2 separate regions of the Homo sapiens genome follow, and region 2 is linked to region 1. The links are contacts of gene promoters, found by promoter capture Hi-C in human tissues and cell types (Jung and others, 2019). All regions are on one chromosome and are shown on one strand. Each heading gives the region's core, a stretch centred on a gene start or on the middle of the fragment in contact. The rest is flanking DNA. Distances are from core to core; before and after follow the strand shown.

The links. Contacts are between HindIII fragments. The study calls those that stand out against the background at their distance.
Region 2: a fragment that was not itself captured here is called in contact with the fragment with the promoter of SBK1 in region 1 in 1 of the 25 tissues and cell types used here (dorsolateral prefrontal cortex).

The regions. Positions count from the first base shown.
Region 1 is chr16:28,290,939-28,294,369 of GRCh38, reverse strand. It overlaps SBK1 (SH3 domain binding kinase 1), which reads right to left and starts at 1,845. Exons shown (of 4, transcript NM_001024401.3): 1 at 1,070-1,845. LOC124903670 (a long non-coding RNA gene) reads left to right here and starts at 2,305. Exons shown (of 2, transcript XR_007065033.1): 1 at 2,305-2,603. RefSeq lists silencers at 1,745-1,974, 2,182-2,353. The HindIII fragment of the contact is 7,957 bases long and covers 1-3,431 here.
Region 2 is chr16:27,544,297-27,547,365 of GRCh38, reverse strand. GTF3C1 (general transcription factor IIIC subunit 1) reads left to right here. Exons shown (of 37, transcript NM_001520.4): 2 at 1,843-2,052. Among named protein-coding and RNA genes, the nearest start is that of GTF3C1, 4.1 kb to the left of the region's middle. The HindIII fragment of the contact is 4,315 bases long and covers 1-3,069 here.

The DNA of each region.
Region 1 (3,431 bases), core at 596-3,095:
ATCACTGCTTGTCTGCAGAAGGCTCAGAGAGAAGAGATGAGAGGAACTCCCAGCAGCCCAGAGTGTGTTCTTTCCATGCAGTCCAGCCCCTTCTCAGGATCTGATTCAGGATTTCAGGGTACAATGTCCCCTAGGGTCTCTCGGCTTCCTCATATGCGGTAGAGCCTGGGGTTCAGGACCTCACTGAGGGCCAGGCTGGGGTACGGCCGTGTGTACCACCTGGAAAGCCACAGTGAGACCCTGGAATTGGCCCTTGGTTGTCTGGGACACATTGAGCCAACCCTTGGTTTAACCTGGGTGTTCTCCAGGTTAGGAGGGGAAGGGAAAGACTTGGGTTGCTGTCCCTGGGACAAATGGGAACAGAACGGTGCCCTGACCTGAAATAGCTTCTTCATCTAGGCTACCTCTCCTCCCCAGAAACTAGCGCCTCACTTTGGGGGGTACTTACTCCCTCCCTGTCCCACAGGGAGTACAAAGTATGGTTTAGGTAAAGACCGCCAGTGTGGCCTGGGTCGGGCAGCAGAGTCACAGGGAAGATGCGATTCCCATTCATCCGCTCAAACACACCCCTTCCCCGCACTCTCACAGACAAAGACACACACCCGAAGCCCCAGCCATCACCCAGGGCCACATAAGGCAGCCCCCCTCACCTGTGGGCACCCCCAAATTTTCCCCTCTCGGGGGGACTTCACTAGAAGCTCAGCTTGGCCGTGGGGGAGGGGTATTCACACTCCAAGGACCTGGGGGCCAACCTCCAGGCTCGCAGCTTTTGGGGGGGGACTCTCCGCCCTCTTCCCCCCTCTCCATGGCACAACGGGCTCCACCACCACTCCTCCGTGGGGCCGGGGAGCTGCGCCCGAGCCTCAAGGCTAGGGAGTGGGGTGGGGGAAGGGAGAGGAGGAGGGGGCGGCTCCTCCAAGCGAGACACAAAGAGACGTCCTTCAGCCTCGGCTCCATGGCGACGCTGGGGAAGGGGGAGCGCGCAACCCGATACTTCCTTCCCCACCTGCAGGGCTATGGGGACCTCGGTGGCCACTCACCTGCCGCCCCTCACCTGGGCCCGGCTTACCTGGGCTGGGGCCGCGGGGACGCCGCGGCAGGGGGCCTGGGCGCCGTCGCGGTCTTCGTCTGCCCGGCCCCGGGGGCTCAGGGCGCCACGACCATGGACCGGGGTGCAAGCGGTGCCGCCAGGGGCTCAGTCGCCCAAGTCCTGGAGCTTTAGGGGGGGGATCCCCGAGGCTTCTTGCTGGTGAGAGTGTCTCTTGCTGTCCCCGGCTGCCTAGATTTGGGATTTCTATGTACCGGAGTTGGGGGGAATTGGGATCCCCTGATCTAGGGGCGTTCTGAGCTGGGTCTTCTTGTCTTGAGGTGTGGAGTTGTAATGACCGGATCTTGGGAGGGGGTTCTCGCAATCCCGGCCTGGGGGCACTGCGTTCTAGGTCTTGGGGCGGGGGCCCAGACTGAGGAGGGGGAGTCCTTGCGGTGCCGTAGGGGGCTTGCTGTCTTCTAAATACCGAGGAAGTCTCCGCTTTCCCCGCAGGGGAGTCGCTCGGTGTCGGATCCGGGAGGGCCCCCCCTCTTCCCCGAGGCTCGCCGGATCCTGGATGTGGAAGGGGGCTCCCCGCACTCCTCGGCTGCGGGGGCTTTAGTGGGTCCCGGCCACCGGCGGGCGCTGGAAGCCCCTCAGCCGCTGGGGGGCTCGGTCGCCGCCGCTACGAGCAGCCCGGCCCTGCGCTCCCGGCCCCCGGCCTGGCCCGGGCTCCGGCTGCGGCTCCAGCTCGCGCTCCGCCTGGCGCTCGGGCCCCGGCCCCGGCGCCCGCCCGGGCTGCGCTCCATCGCGGCATCGCGGCTCCGCCCTCCAGCCAGCGCGCACCTGCCCGCCCGGCCCGCGGCTCCGCCCTCCGGCTCGCGCGCCGCCGCCCGCCCCTTTGTCCGTCCCGCTCGGCGCGCGCCCTCGCGCAAGCGCGCTCACCCGCCGCGCGCCCGCCCTCCCGCCGCGCGCCGCGGAGCGCAGATTCTCCCCGCGCGGCGCCCCCACCCCCTTCCGGCCGCGCTGGGTCCTAGCGCCGGTGGCTCCCGAGCTGGCTCCCACCCCCCACCCCCCACCCACCCCACTCCTTTTCTAGGTCAGAGCCCACGAGGGGGCGAGAACGAGGTTACAGAGGACTCGGGGGAGTCTGAGAGGGTCACCTGGTCCAGCTTTCTGGGCCCTGCGGGACGAGACTGCCCCAGACTGTCCCGGTCTGTGCTAGTGGGGCGGAGCCTGTGTGTGTTTGAAGGAGGGAAAACAAATCCAGGTTCTGCATTCGGATATGCATTTCATTCATCCATGCGTCCGCCTGCCTGCCTGCGCTTCCATCCATCCATCCATCCGTCCGTCCATCCATCCATCCATCCATCCATGCATCCTATTTCCAGCGAGACGTCAGAGAACTCACAGTCTTCTTGGGGAAGAGGTCATAAACTTGGGCCTGGGTGGTTGCCCTATCCAACTGAGGTCGCCTTTGCGATCCCTGCTGCAAATAGGCAGTGACTAGTCCAGGAGTGCAGCTGGGAGGAACTGCTCGCCGGATAGAAGGGAAGAAAGGAGATTCTAGGCAGAGGTACAGCAGGTGTAAGGGATGTTGCATTGTCTGTTTGATAACCGGAAATTGGTGGCCTGGATGAAGTGGGTGGATGGGGACAGAGATGAGATAGGGACAGCTCGTCCTTCCAGGCCCTGTTCTTTCTCCTCCCTGCAGCTCACTCTTTCCCTAGTGAGAAAGCCCCAATAGGACGCCTTCCCTATTTCTTTCTTTTTTTTTTGTTTTTTTAGCTTCAAGCTTCAAAAGCATTTCTTTTTCATTCTTTTTTTTAATTATTATTATACTTTAAGTTTTAGGGTACATATGCACAACATGCAGGTTTGTTACGTATGTATACGTGTGCCATGTTGGTGTGCTGCACCCATTAACTCGTCATTTAGCATTAGGTATATCTCCTAATGCTATCCCTCCCCCTTCCCCCCACCCCACAACAGTCCCTGGTGTGTGATGTTCCCCTTCCTGTGTCCATGTGTTCTCTTTGTTCAATTCCCACCTATGAGTGAGAACATGCGGTGTTTGGTTTTTTGTCCTTGCGATAGTTTGCTGAGAATGATGGTTTCCAGCTTCATCCATGTCCCTACAAAGGACATGAACTCATCATTTTTTATGACTGCCCCTATTTCTTCTAAGTTTTTGATCAGGCTGTTTTCTCAACCCAGCGTAATCCTCCCAGCCACTCCCGACTGTTTCCAGAGCTTTAGGAGCCAGGGATTGCAAACGCAAGTACCTACAGGCGCAGACATGAGCGACTGGGGTCGCATGTAAAGTGATAGAGAGGGTGGAGAAGAGGGGAACTGGAGACATCGTGGGCTGTGCGTGGCTGGATGATATTCAAAGAGAAGCAGG
Region 2 (3,069 bases), core at 19-2,518, 750 kb after region 1:
GTGAAGAGTCTTAATTAGTAAACATCTGGCTTCGTGGGAGTGAAAGCAGGCCAGAGGGAGGGACTGAGCTAGACATCTGTGAGTCATTCCTAGCAGCTGGTAATTAAAGCAGCTGGCTAAGATCAGCCCTAAGAGAGAGTGTAGTGTGGTTGGAGGTCTTGAGATATAGCTCTGCAGTGCACCTACATTTCAAGGCTGGATGGAGGGTGAGGGACTTTCAAAAGAAGACTGAGGCGGTGTGGCTGGAGAGGTAGAGGACAGTCAGGTCAGAGTGGTGTTCTGGAAGTTTGGGAGGAGACAGGATCATTTAAGAACGGAGGGTTGGGCTGGGTGTGGTGAATCATGCCTGTAATCCCAGCACTTTGGGAGGCCGAGGCAGGTGGATCATTTGGCCAACATCGTGAAACCCTCTCTCTACTAAAAATACAAAAATTAGCTGGGTGTGGTGGCAGGTGCCTGTGATCCCAGCTACTAGGGAGGCTGAGGCAGGAGAATCGCTTGAACCCAGAAGGTAGAGGTTGCAGTGAGCCGAGATTGCGCCACTGCACTCCAGCCTGGGTGACAAGATCAAAACTCAAGTCTTAAAAAAAAGGAATGGAGGGTTAAATGGTGCAGATAACACAGAGGGGGCAAGGAAGGAAAGGGCTGAAACATGTACATAGGATTTAGCCGCAATTAGACTAGTGTAGGATATGAGTGAGATTTCAAAATAAAACTCGACAAGCAGCCAGGCAAGGTGGCTCACACCTGTAATCCTAGCACTTTGCAAGGCTGAAGTGGGCAGATTACTTGAGCCCGGTAGTTCAAGACCAATCTGGGCAACATAGTGAGGGGAAAAAAAATTATATATATATATATGTATGTATTTTTTTTTTTTTTCAAAAAAAAAAAAACTTGACAAGCTTGGCTAACTGCATGAAAGAAGCACAAATGAAAAATGTCTCCATGGTGTTGTAAGAGGCACATGGAAGAAAGCGGTAGTAAGAGGGGAAAGAAGGGACTTAATTGGAGCTGGGGAGAGGTAATCATATTTGGAATGGGAGGCATTTAATAGACAAGTGAAGACATTGGATCTGTATTTGGAGAAAAAGGACTGAGGATTCAAAGGTGAGACTTGTTAACATGCAGGCGGTAATGCAAACCATGAAAATGGGTTAGGATATTAGAGAGATAACTAAGGAGAGATGGAAAGATGAGATCTTAAAGGGAGGAAAGCTTTGGCCACTTGTGGTGGCTCCCACCTGTAATCTCAGCACTTTGGGAAGCTGAGGCGGGTGGATCACCGAGGTCAGGAGTTCGAGACCACCCTGACCAACATGGTGAACCGTCATCTCTACTAAAAATACAAAATTAGCCGGGCGTGGTGGCACACCCCTATAATCCCAGCTCCTTGGGAGGCTCAGGCAGGAGAATTGCTTGAACCTGGGAAGTGGAGGTTGCAGTGAGCCAAGATCATGCCATTGGACTCTAGCCTGGGCAACAAGAGCAAAACTCCATCTCAAAAAAGCGGAGGAAAGCCTTGAATCATTTCGTCCAACTTGGTGGTTTGGAGACTGAGTACCAGATTTGGAGGGAAACAAAAGCCCATGACTTGGCCAATAAGGAGGTTTAGGTCCCAGCACCCAGCTTCTGGAATAGTCTGGGGAGTCCTGGAAAGGTCTGCGTTCTGTGGGATAGAAAGGCAGGAACCTGCTTGTCAAGATTATCTGCATTTATAAGGCAGGAAAACTGACTGATCTCACTTCTCTCTGATCTCTGCTGGAGGTTGTCAAAAGAACACAGCCAAGCACACATTATATCTGAAGCTGAGTTGGGCTTTGATATTTGTGTTTTTCTCCTTAGGTATGAAGAAATTGATTTGGAAACTGGAATTTTGGAGTCTAGGAGGGACCCGGTGGCTTTGGAGGATGTCTACCCCATTCATATGATCTTAGAGAATAAGGATGGCATCCAGGGCTCATGCCGCTACTTTAAGGAGAGGAAAAACATTACCAATGACATCAGAACCAAGTCCTTGCAGCCTCGCTGTACAATGGTGGAAGCCTTTGACAGGTAACTATTTTGCACCATCAGAAATTCCTGGGAATCTGGCCGGGTACGGTGGCTCACGCCTGTAATCCCAGCACTTTAAGAGGCCGAGGCAGGTGGATCACTTGAGGCCAGGAGTTCAAGACCAGCCTGGCCAACATGGCAAAACGCTGTTTCTACTAAAAATACAAAAATTAGCCGGGTGTGGTGGCACATGCCCATAATCCCAGCTACTGTAGTGGCTGAGGCATGAGAATCACTTGAACCCAGAAAGCAGAGGCAGGCTGCAGTGAGCCGAGGTCATGCCACTGCACTTCAGCCTAGGCAACAGAGTCAGACCCTGTCTACAAAAAAAAAAAAAAAGGAAAAAAGAAATTCCTGGGAATCTGAGTGCTTTGAATGTGTAGTCAGAGCACTTGGATCTGGCCCACAACCTTGGAGTCTGTCAGAGTTCACTAGCCCTGCACTACGCCAGTTCTTGGCCTTCATTCGCCTTCTTCACTGGGGTCACGGGTCCTGCCTTTCTCTTTCCTTTGTGCTCACAGTCCTTGAGCACTTGAATGGTGCCCTTTCTCTCTTCCTACCTGGGCCCTGTGCTGCCAAGCCATTCTCTTGTGAATCCTCAGTCAGTATCCCAATTCCCCAGAGTGTCTAATCCAAATGATCATTTTTTTTCAAGCACCTAACTCCATTCCTGCCTTCCTTCCTACTTTACAGGGCAATGTGAACTCTGCTAACTTCCACCTTCTTTCTTGACTTGCAGACTTTTCCACATTTCTTCCCTGTCTACTCTCATCTCGGAGGAGGTGAGAAATGGTGGCCCTGTCTAAGGCTGTGATCTGGATGCATCCCTTCCTCCTCCTCCCCTCCCCCAGCCCAGCTCCCTCTACCCCTGCTCTTTTCCACCTCTCAGTTAGCTCATCTTTCTCCTTGATTTTCTTTTTCTTTTTTTTGAGACAGAGTCTCACTCTGTTGCCCAGGCTGGAGTACAGTGGTGTGATCACAGCTTATTGCAGCCTTGACCTCCTGGGCTCAGGTGAT